Linked DNA regions of Homo sapiens: region 2 is linked to region 1. The links are contacts of gene promoters, found by promoter capture Hi-C in blood cells and fetal thymus (Javierre and others, 2016). All regions are on one chromosome and are shown on one strand. Each heading gives the region's core, a stretch centred on a gene start or on the middle of the fragment in contact. The rest is flanking DNA. Distances are from core to core; before and after follow the strand shown. Region 1 holds the start of IGSF9 (immunoglobulin superfamily member 9). Region 2 overlaps DCAF8 (DDB1 and CUL4 associated factor 8).

Evidence for each region. The method cuts DNA at HindIII sites, captures the fragments that hold promoters and counts their contacts. A CHiCAGO score of 5 or more calls a contact.
Region 2: a contact is called between a fragment that was not itself captured here and the fragment with the promoter of IGSF9 in region 1, in 1 of 17 cell types (naive CD4 T cells). The highest score is 5.8, in naive CD4 T cells.

The regions. Positions count from the first base shown.
Region 1 is chr1:159,943,534-159,949,105 of GRCh38, reverse strand. IGSF9 (immunoglobulin superfamily member 9) reads left to right here and starts at 3,493. Exons shown (of 21, transcript NM_001135050.2): 1 at 3,493-3,533; 2 at 5,478-5,572. It overlaps LOC124904438 (a long non-coding RNA gene), which reads right to left. Exons shown (of 3, transcript XR_007066684.1): 2 at 2,654-2,954. RefSeq lists an enhancer at 2,870-3,370 and a silencer at 3,213-3,507. The HindIII fragment of the contact is 10,806 bases long and covers 2,589-5,572 here.
Region 2 is chr1:160,253,281-160,259,258 of GRCh38, reverse strand. The region is part of intron 2 of DCAF8 (DDB1 and CUL4 associated factor 8); the gene reads left to right. Among named protein-coding and RNA genes, the nearest start is that of DCAF8-DT, 5.5 kb to the left of the region's middle. The HindIII fragment of the contact is 697 bases long and covers 1,597-2,293 here.

The sequences.
Region 1 (5,572 bases), core at 2,244-4,743:
AAAAGTAAGCAGGGCCTTTCTGAAGCAGGAATTCAAAGACAAACAGGACAATATCCACACCCTTGTGGGGCTAAGTGTTTCATTGGGATAGAAGATAGGCACACAAAAAGTTAAATGACAATATATGAGAAACCGCACTTCTTTACGGATCTGGTAATAAGACTGCTGCTTACAGGCATGTGGTCAACAGAGTCCCTGGATGACAATCTTTTCTTTTCTTTTTTAACTCAGATATAACTTAATATATGCCTGATTAACAACATCCCTATTATCGATTATTAAAGCCACCCTTTCTATTCTAGAATATGGGATAGTTATGTGGTGCTTAATTGGTACAAGCAATGTTAACACATCAAATGTGGTCACTACTAAAAGCCCATGTGTTCCACCTTTCAGGGTTCATTTGATATCAAGTAATTCTCTGCTTATCTATAGACAATGAGAAACTTTGCTGATTAGGAACACCTGTGCTTAACGATGCCAAGCAGACATCTCTGAGGTCACACCATCTTCTTTGTGCAGGGCTATGGAGCAGCTCAGGTCCTTTCTTCCCAAGGCCTGCTGAAATATTAGGTATACACCAGGAAGACAGAACCAATAAGATAGATAGATACAGATATAGAAATATGAGATGGGATTTATTAGGGGAATTGGCTTACATGATGGTGGAGGCCAAGTCCTACAACATGCACAAAGAAGGCCCTGGGATGGCAAAAGTGTGGCTCAGTCCAACTCCAAAAGCCTCACAACCAGGGAGGCCAATGGTATAACTCACAGTCCCAAGTCTGGAGAGCCTGGAGTTTTGATGTTCAAAGGCAAGAGGAGGAGAATACCCCAGCTCTGAGAGACAGAGAGAGAGACAGAGAGAGAAAAGAAGAAGAAGGAGAAGGAGGAGGAGGAGGAGGAGGAGGAGGAGGAAAAGCAGCAGCAGAGGAGGAGGAGGAGAAGGAGGAGGAGGAGGAAAGAGGAAAGAAGAAAGCAGGAGAAGGAGAAGAAGGAGGAAGAAGAGGAGGAGGAGGAGGAGGGGGAGAGAGAGAATATTTTCTGATATCCTTGTCAGCAATTTGAAAATATGGGGGCTGCCTGATACTTAGGTTAGGTGGAATCCTCGTTGGTTGAATAAGCTTTCCCAGAGAGTAATGACTATGAATCAAGGACAACCTAGAGGAAAGTCTTTTGTTTTGAACCTCAGGGACTATTTTTTAAATCAGCTTTCACTCCTGGCACAGTGAGGGAACAAGTTATAGGGCTAGGTTCCTTTTCTTAACAAAAAATCTCCAATATACATATAAATCAGACAAAAAATGGCAATAACAATAAAAGTCACAAAATAAGTTTCCAGAAAAAAAAGGCCATATCATAAACTTTTAAAAATTGAAAACCATTTTAAATGTCATTTAACAGAAAGTTATTTTAATGTCTAAATGAGATTAGTTTATCCTCAAGAAACCACTGGAGACAGCAGTTTAGATCAAAGGTGTGGCCAATTCTAACAGCGGGGAGGGAGATCCTTCCCAATGATTGGTAAAGATCCAAAGACTAAAAAACACTTGGCTCGGCCGGGGGCAGTGGCTCACACCTGTAATCCCAGCATTTTGGGAGGCCGAGGTGGGTGGATCATGAGGTCAGGAGTTCAAGACCAGCCTGGTCAAGATGGTGAAACCCCATCTCTACTAAAAATACAAAAATTAGCCAGGCATGGTGGTGGCCGCCTGTAATCACAGCTGCTTGGGAGGCTGAAGCAGGAGAATCGCTTGAACCCGGGAGGTGGAGGTTGCAGTGAGCCGAGATTGCACCACTGCACTCCAGCCTGGGCGATAGAGTGAGACTCTGTCAAAACAAAAAAACAAACAAACAAAAAACCCGCTTCACTCTTTTACCATTTCTTCTAGCCTTGCTTCCATGCTGCATTCATTAACATGTTTCCATTATAGTCTTATCAATAGATCAGGGTATTATGTTGAAATGCATTGTTGAAAAGCTGCTACTTTGGGACTATTTGCAGGAGGGATGGTGGGAGAGACTGGCCCACTGCTCCTGCCTCTTCCCTTCCATCTCAGTCACCCAAAAGCACTAAAACCTTTACACCTGGAAGAACTGTCCAGCAGGCAGAGCTTACTAAGGATGGAATGGGTACAACAGTAGTGCTGAGCTTCCTGGCCCAGGATGTAATGAGATAGGGGCTTGGATGACTACATGGAGAAATGATGTGCCAGGGATTCTGGGGCCAAGTAGTGCTTAGGCCCATCCTGGAGGTTCTCTCATGATGCTGCAGCAGTGATTCTGTGAGTCTGATGCCTGGTGCACTCAGTTTGAGTCTTAGTACTTCGGATTGGGATGAGATCAGCACGTTGCTTTCATGGAAGGCTTCCAAGGGAGCCAACTGAATGGGAAGGACCTGGACAGGCAATGTTGCTTAAGCCGACCCAGCATCCCTACAGCATCACCAGGCTGAGGAGGTGGAATCTCTGAGGGGCAAGATATGCAAGATATCTTTGTGTCTGAGGGCGAAGCCTCCAAGGGAGTAGGTTTGATGAAGTTTGGGTTGGGTCTCAATCCAGCTCTGCCATAACCTAGTTGGGAAAGCTTGGGCCAAGTTACTTCATCTCCCTGAGCCTCAGTTTTCTCATTAGTCAAAGGGAGCTCTACTTACTTCGCAGGGTTTCTGTGAAGGTTACACAAGAGTTATAAAGCATCTAGTCCAGGGTCTGGCACCCTGCATGGGTCCAGTAAGTGATCTTGTATTTCATTCCTCCCTTTCAATCTCCCGTGTCAGGATATCTGTCGTTTCTCCCCTCTGGGCCTGTTTCTCTGGGTCGTTGGTGCCAGAGCTGCCTTGGGAGCTGACTTGGCAACCCCACGCTCAGAGCACAGCCTTCCTCAGCTGCACACGGTGGGAGGCGCCTGGGCAAGATTTGGGAGCTCGCCAATGCAGACAGGTATTTCCAGTCCTGCTAGAGAAGCAATGGGTGGAGGTAGAAATGGGGATGGGGGAGGAGATCGGATGAGCCCGGGACCTGGGTGGATCCCCTGGGAGGAGGGCGGGGAGTCATGCTCCCCGCCTGGTTCTCCTACCCCCAGGCTCAGATTTCAACCCTCGCTGCCGCCTCTGTGGCGCGCCCGTTCGGGGAGCGGAGAGGGTCGCCCGTAGGTTCCGAAAGAAGGACGGCGTACCAGTAGCCTGGCAAGGGGCCAGCTCCCGCAGCCCTGGAGCGCGAGCCGGACCCTGCTGCCCCTCTTGCTGGCGGCGGGAAGCGGCCCACCGGCCTTTCCACGCTTGGCTGTGCAGAGGTCCACGAGGGGGCGACCTGAGCCCACGTGCAGCCGAGCTCTTCCCTCCTGAAACTACAACTCCCAGGCCGCTCAGGGGTCCCGCCCGCCTCGCCGTGCCTCTGGCGGCTCCAATTGGCCGCCGCGGGAGGGGGATTGGCGGTCTCCAGGGCGACGGGAGGCGCTCGGGGCATCCGAGGCGGGGAGGCGGGTCCGCCCCCTATTGTGTAGCGGCGAGAGTGGAGCCGAGCGGTGCGGAGCAGGTGAGGGAGGGGGCGTACTGGAGGTATAGAAGTGGTGGTGCTGGTAGTGCGGAGTTATGGGGGACAGGAGAAAGCGGGGAGTTCTAGAGAGAAGTGGAATTCGTTGCAGGAGTAGAACTAGGGGAGTTCTGGGGAGTGAAGTGGAATTCTTGGCGGGTGGGTGGGAGTTCCCGGAGAACTGCAGGAGTTCTGGAGGCAATGTGGGGGAGTTCTTGGTGGGTTCTAAGAGAAAGGAGGAGTTCCAGGGGACCAGAGAATGCGAGGGAGAAAGGAATTGTTGGGGGTGGGGTATCAGAATTGTATTGTGGGCTGATGCAGGAGAATCCCAGGGAGGGGAATTATCGGGAGGAGAGGATGGGGAGAAGTGGCTGGGGGGTGGGGAGACCAGAAGGGAGTTCTTTATAGTGCAGGAGACCTGCTGCAATTGGAGATCAGGTGCGAGAAGCTGGAATTGTGGGGGGATTGTGCGTAGTAGCGATAACTGGGAAGGGAGTAATGGGAGGACGAGGGAGTGGTGTGTGGGGAGACTAGAAGGGTGAGGAAATAGTGGAGGCCGGGGGAGTTGGAAAGATATTAAGAGACTGGGAGGAATTCTAGGGATGCCTAGTTACTCAGAGTCTCGGAAAACAACCAGGAGAGAACTAGGGGGTTCCTATATACTTGGAAAAAGGTTTTTCAGGGAAGTGTGGGAGAGCTGCCTGGAGGCAGTGGGAAACAGGGGGCTTGGTTGCTAGTGAATTGCCAGAAGTTAGACATACAGGATCATTAAGTAGAGGCAAGGATCAGACTCTGTGGAGGATGTTTTATAGTCTGTCCTGAACTTTGCGGCCAAGAGTGGGTTGGAGGACTCAGAGCAGAGTCCACTTGGCAGTGCCAGGCCCTGGCATGGACCCTCTGGCTCTCTGAGACTGCCCTAGGATCTGTGGGGCTGTCAGAAGCTCCTACCCTCCATGCCCCAGGGTTAATTTTGTACACTTCAGGGACTCACAGGCTTTTTTTTGGACCATGCCTCTGGGGTTGGGGAAGAAAGAGCTTGACAAACCCTGGCACCCCGAAGATATTGGAGGGGAGTGAGTGGGAGGGATTTGGGTGAGGTCCTTGGGTGGTGGTGCCTGGCAGGGGGAGGGCTGCTTGGCAGTATCGTGAGGAAGTGGCGCCAGCTGCCAGCCCCGGGACCTGTCCAGACCTGGAGGATGCTGCCTGGATCCCCCATACTGGCAGGTGGGGGAGGCAGCTCCTCCTCTCCCAAGTGCCTGACTCACTCACTGCCAAAGCAGTGTAGGGAGACTGAATGGAGAAAGGCCTCGGGTCCTCAGCTTCCAGAGTTTTTCATAGAGGCTGGGGAAATGGGACAAGGGATTGTATCGGGGTGTCCTGGGGACCACTTTCTGAGGCTTAAGCGCCCTGGATTTGCCCTTGACTGGCTCTCTGCCCCTGAGCAGATATCCTCAGGGCCCTTATTTGTCACAGAGGGGTGAAGGCGACAGCACTGGTTCCATCTTGCTGCTATACCTTGTGAGCATCAAGAGTAAGGAAAGAAGCGAGAGCAGCCTAGGCCATGAGAGTCTTGATCTACCATACTTCCTTCAAAAATATTTTTCCAAGCATATGAGGAACCCCAGTTCTCTTCTGGCTTAGTTTTTCAAGACCCTCAGAATGCAGGCATCCCCAGAATCCTTCCACATTTCCTAAGACCTTCCCAACTCTCCCAGCCTCCCCCATTTCCTCACCTTTCTAGTATCTGCATTCAGCACTCACCATTCTCCCAGTACTCCTACCCCTGCTCTTACTCCCCAGGGCTTCAAGATCCCCCCCTTCCCCCTACCCCTCACTTAACTACACTCCTCCCTCCTTTCTCTTCCCAGTGCCTTTCTCTAATGGTGGGGTTTCTTCTGGGCTCCAGTATTGGCCAACTCTGCATGTTGCCTTGTACTTTTCATTTAGATCTGGTGGTTCTCCGGAGAGCAGCTTCCTCGGGTGTTACATGAGCCAAGCCCTCACTGTACAGAAGAGTGAGAGCTGAAACCTGTTCCCTGAGC
Region 2 (5,978 bases), core at 696-3,195, 310 kb before region 1:
CCGGCCAAAGAGTTCTTTTTTCAGCTCCACAGCTGGACCGTCTTAATAATATGACAGCACAGATGAAGAGTTTTAAACCTTTTGTTGGCTTTTCTTTCGTATCTTTTTGGCAAGGGCACATGAAAATTAAGTACTGATAATATCACAATGAAAGCAGCTGTGTCATTCAGACCAGTGACCATTTTAGGTTTGATGAACTTTTCATTACCATCATCCAGGGTCTAAATTCTCCATTGTAAGGTAAGGATTCTCCAGGGTGGTGGTGAGGTGGGTTGAGATTGCATTTGTATCATTTGTGTTTTTATGAACTCTGAAGATCCATGTCGGGTGAAGGAAAGGATGGGAGGAGAAAAGGAAATACTTTGAAAGAGGGATAACTTGGACTGTTTATTTCCTTATGTGCTGGGTAAGAATGTCCAGGTGACATCTATATGTAGTAAATCAGTATTTCTAGTCTGTGGACCACACTGTAAACTTTTTATCTTTCTAAAGTTTTTTTTATTTTTGTAGAGATAGGGTCTCACTTTGTTGCCTAGGCTGGTCTCAAACTCCTGGGCTCAAGTGATCTTCCCACCTCAGCTGAGTAGCTGGGACCGCAGGGGCATATCACCATACCTAGCTAATTTTTGGTTGTTTTTTTTTTGTTTGTTTGTTTTTTTAAAGAGATGAGGTCTTACTTGCCCGGCTCAAGTGATGCTCCCATCTTGGCCTCCCAAAGTGCTGGGATTACAGGCATAGCCGCAGCACCCAGCTTGAAGATATTTTTATATTTCCAGGGTTTTAGGTGTTTACTTAAGAATTGTGACATCTTATTAGGTAGTATTTCCTAGGATGATTAGAGTGGGAGGCTAAGAATGCTTGTGACCTTTTAGTTCCCACCACCAACCTCTTAAAGTGCAGTCTATTTATTTATTTTTGAAATAGGATCTCACTCTGTCACCTAGAGTGCAGTGGCACTATCATGGCTCACTGCAACCTCGACCTCTTGGGCTTAGGTGATTCTCCCATCTCAGCCTCTCGAGTAGCTGGGACTACAGGTGCACGCCACCGTACCTGGCTAATTTTTGTATTTTTTGTAAAGATGAGGTTTCACCATATTGCCCAGGCTGGTTTCAAACCCCTGGGCTCAAGCAATCCTCCTGCCTCAGCCTCCCAGAGTGCTGGGATTACAGGCGTGAGCCACTGCACCCTGCTAAATGCAGTCAATTAAATGTATAAGAATCTGCCAGGCTGAGTGCGGCTGGCTCATGGCTGTAATCCCAGCACTTTTGGGAGGCCAAGGTGGGAGGATCACTTGATCCTAGTTGTTCAAGTCCAGCCTAGGCAATATTGAGACCTTGTCTCTACAAAAAGTTTAAAAAAAAAGCCAAGCATGGGGCAAGTACTTGCAGTCCCATCTCCTTGGGAGGCTGAGGTGGGAGGATTGTTTGAGTCCAGGAGGTAGAGCTGAGATTGCGCAGTGATCACTGCAGTGCGCTGAGATTGCGCCTCTGCAGTTTAGTATGGGCAACAGAGCGAGACCTAGTCTCAAAAAAAAGAATCAGTTCCAGTGCCATGGTCCTTAGTGTGGAGTAGGACCAACCTAAGACAGAAGCTTGTCTACAGAGAGCTGAAAGAAAGCAGCCTCTTTGTTGCCAGTTTAAAACAATACTGGCATTTTAAAAGCAAACAGATTCTAGTAGGAGACATTGTATAGAAGCGCACCCTGTTGTGAAAGACTGGGATCTTGAGTTTCGTGCTCTAAGTCTTGTATTCTATCAGGGGAGTAATAGGCTTTTAAAATCATAAAGTGACTATTAAAATGCTTTCAGTAGATAGATTCATTACTCCATTATTTCTACTGTATAAAAGTTTATTCTAAACATGTCTAGGAAATATCCAGATTATAAAAGAGAAATAACGGTATCCAAACCAGACTTTTTATTGCATAACATTGGTGTTAGAGTTAGTTTTTAAGTCTCTGAGATTGAATTAGCTTTTTTTTTTTTTAAAGCAGATTATCAGTGAGCTAAGATAATCTGCTGTTTACCCTCACCTATTTGGAACACAGGCAACTGAATTAATTGAATCAGCAATAGGCATGGGGTAGTGACTTTGTATATTTTCATTTTAGAGCCAAAAGCCAGTGAGTTTTAGATTAGCTTTATAGTAATATTAAAAACTTCATCTTTTATTTTTACAAATGTAGCCAAGAAACATCATTGCTGTTAAAATCAGTCAGAAAAGGAGGCTACTTGCTCTTTATTGATTTAGTCATTCTGCTCTTGGAGTGAGTAGAAAGTCTTTGAAAGCTTTTCAAAAATTAGCGAGTGATGAATTTTATGAATTAGTCACTTCTTTGCAGCAGTTTTTTTTTATCTCTACCTCTGTAGGACATAGTTCCTGGGCCAGAAGCCAGATTTCTCAAGTACCATCTAACCCCAGGAATGTGTTATGATACAGATAAATTAATGAACGGAGGCTGCCTTGAGGTTGCCAATAGGGCATTGGGGAGTAATTAATATGACAAAGATGTCATCTTATTAATGAAATGTATTAATAGTATGTCTAGTGGATTGGGTCAATGCAAACATTTTAGATTAGATATTTGCTGTTTATCCTCTGAAGTTACTGTTTAAGGAAGTCTGGCCAAGTTCTAAAGTGAAGCATACATATTTGCCTCACGTGCCATTTTTTTTTTTCTTCCTGGCTTTTTCTTAGCCATCTGGAAAGCTACTATAGGGTTTACCTCTAATGGTAGTCAAGTTACTGTATTCCTCTGGTGTACTTTAATGATTGCCACATTACCAGGTATGTTTTGTTAACCTTACTTAGAATCCAACATTAGACCCTTTCTTCTAACCTAACCTGTAGGAAGGCACTTCTTGAGGTTTTAAGCCTCTCTTTAATGTTTTATTGTAAGTTGTACCTTGGGAGCATCATTTTTTCATCTTAAATCCTCTCCAGTTTAAGAAAAATTTGAAATATAAATGGCAAAAACTGTTAATGGCAACAGACTTCTGATGTAAATGTAAATTGAGATGGAAACAAAATGAAAAGTAGATTTCCCTAGGAATTAGTTAAACTGAGATAAATGGTCCTGGATGTTTTTATAGAAAGTTCTCTTAGCCAGGTGCAGTGGCATGTACCTGTAATCCCAACTACTCGGGGGGCTGAGTTGGGAGGACTGCTTGAGCCCAGGAGTTTCAGGCTGGCAACATAGCAAGACCTTGTCTCTTAAAAAAAAAAAAAAAAAAAAAAAAAAAAGTTTGCTTAGTTCTGCTGCTGGAAATTAACACTTAAGGGTTAGAGTGCATTCCTGACATAGTCTGAAATACTGTTATTAGAATTAAAGCCAGAGGCCATGCACGGTGGCTTACATCTGTAATCCCAGCATTTTGGGAGGCTGAGACGGGCGGATCACCTGAGGTCAGGAGTTTGAGACCAGCCTAGCCAACATAGCAAAACCCTGTGTCTACTAAAAATATAAAAATTAGCCAGCTGCAGTGGCATGCACCTGTAGTCCCAGCTACTTGGGAGGCTGAGGCGGGAGAATTGCTTGAACCCAGAAGGCAGAGGTTGCAGTGACCCAATATCACACCAGTGTACTCCAGCCTGGGTGACAGAGTGAGACCCTGTCTCAAAAAAATAAAAATAAAAAAACAATAATTAAAGCCAGTAAACTATAAACACTGGGCATTTTATGTTACCAATAGGGAGAGAAGGCATTAATTCAAAGAAGGAACAAAGTTCCTTATTCATAGTTTGAATCCTCATCATTATCCATGGTGATTGCTTTGCAGTCTTCCATCTTGGGTATCCTCAGAACCTTCAAGAGGGAGAAGAGGCCAGGTGTGGTGGTACATACCTATAATCCCAGCACTTTGGGAGGCCAAGGTAGGAGGATTACTTGAGCTCAGGAGTTTGAGACCACGCGGCAAGATAGTGAGACTCCGTCTCTACGATAATAATAGTAAAAAAATCTATTTTAAAAATTAAAAGAGGGAGAAAAACTTAGGGAGGCTTATATTGTGGGTTCCTGGGTAGATTGTCTTACTGCAGTTCGTAGAACATGAATACTTGAAAGAAGATATTAACGGAGCTCTCTGAATTCTTTAAAACGCCAGAAAGGGTAAGCAGATTTCATAGACTTGGGACTGTGTCCTATATTATATACGATGTTTGGAGAATCATTGCTGAGTGGTAAAGAGGTCCAGGATTTTCTAGGAAATGTAGTCTGGTATAGAGATGGGAAACTAGAAAAATAATATAAATGGCTACTATGTACAAACAGGCTCTTAGCATACATTATTTTTAATCCTCTAAATTCCTGCAGGGTGGTAATATTATCCCATTTTACAAAAGAAAAACTCAAAAGCAGGTGGTAGAGGTAGAATTCAAACCCAGGTCTGTTTGACACCAAAGCCCTTTTCTTTCTTTCATAACACATGCTGTCTTTAAAAATAGGACTTTTCTTTTTTCTTTTTTTTTTAGATGGAGTCTTGCTTTGTCGCCAGGCTGTAGTGCAGTGGCATGACTTGGCTCACTGAAACCTTCCCCTCTCGGGTTCAAGCAGTCCTCCTGCCTCAGCCTCCGAGTAGCTAAGACTACAGGCGCATGCCACCATGCCCAGCTAATTTTTGTATTTTTAGTAGAAATGGGGTTTTACCATGTTGGCCAAGATGGTCTTGATCTCTTGACCTCGTGATCCACCCGGCCCGGCCTCCTAAAGTGTGGGGATTACAGGCGTGAGCCATGGTACCTGGCCAAAAAAAAAACCAGGGCTTTTCAAAGCCAAGAGATGAAGCTGAAAGGTAGAATTAAATATTTCTTATAAACATATGTATATAAATTATTCAAATGACAGTAGGAATACAAACTTTTTTTATTGTTTAGACATAGTTATGCTATATTGGTAAGCTAATGAGTTTTTAAGAAAACAATTTTTTTTTTTTTTTGAGACAGAGTTTCGTTCTTTGGCCCAGGTTGGAGTGCAGTGGCACAATCTTGGCTCATTGCAACCTCTGCCTTCCAGTTTCATGCGATTCTTCTGCCTCAGTCTCCCCAGTAGCTGGGATTACAGGCATGCACCACCATACCTAGCTTATTTTTGTATTTTTAGTAGAGACGGAGCTTCACCATGTTGGCCAGGCTGGTCTCAAACTCCTGACCTCATGATCCGCCTGCCTCGGCCTCCCAAAGTGTTGGGATTACAGGCATGAGCCACGCACCCATCCCAGGAAATAATTTTTATAGATTTAAGAGATAGCTGAATCCTAGTGTTTTATGATTCTTTACTGGAGAGAAAATCAGCATTCCATTCAATCTCTGAGATAATTCCAGGGGAAAAGCTGTTCTGACTCTTACAGCCTTTTGACAGTATACTGTTCTCTGTATTTTTTTGGAAGCATGGACTATCCTCCTTACCTTCTTGGTTTTTTTGTTTGTTTTTCTGAGACAGGGACTTGCTCTGTCACCCAGGCTGGAGTGCAGTGACCCCATCACAGTTCACTGCAATCTCGACCTCTGGGACTCCAGTGATCCTCCCACTTCAGCCTCCCAAGTAGCTGGGACTACAGGTGTACACCACCACACCCTGCTATTTTTTTTTTTTTTTTTTTTTTTTTTTTTTGAGATGGAGTCTCACCCTGTCGCACAGGCTGGAGTGCAATGGTGCGATCTCGGCTCACTGCAACCTTTGCCTCCCAGGTTCAAGTGATTCTCCTGCCTCAGCCTCCTGAGTAGCTGGAATCACAGGCGTATGCCACCGCGTGTGGCTAATTTTTGTATTTTTAGTAGAGACAGGGTTTCACCATGTTGGCCAGGCTTGTCTCAAACTCCTGACCTCAGGTGATCCACCCGCCTCAGCCTCCCAAAGTGCTGGGATTACCAGCGTCACTTAGACGTCAGCCACTGTGCGCAGCCTAATTTTTAAATTTTTTCTAGAGACAGGGTCTCCTGATGTTGCCCAGGTTGGTCTCAAATTCCTGGACTCAAGC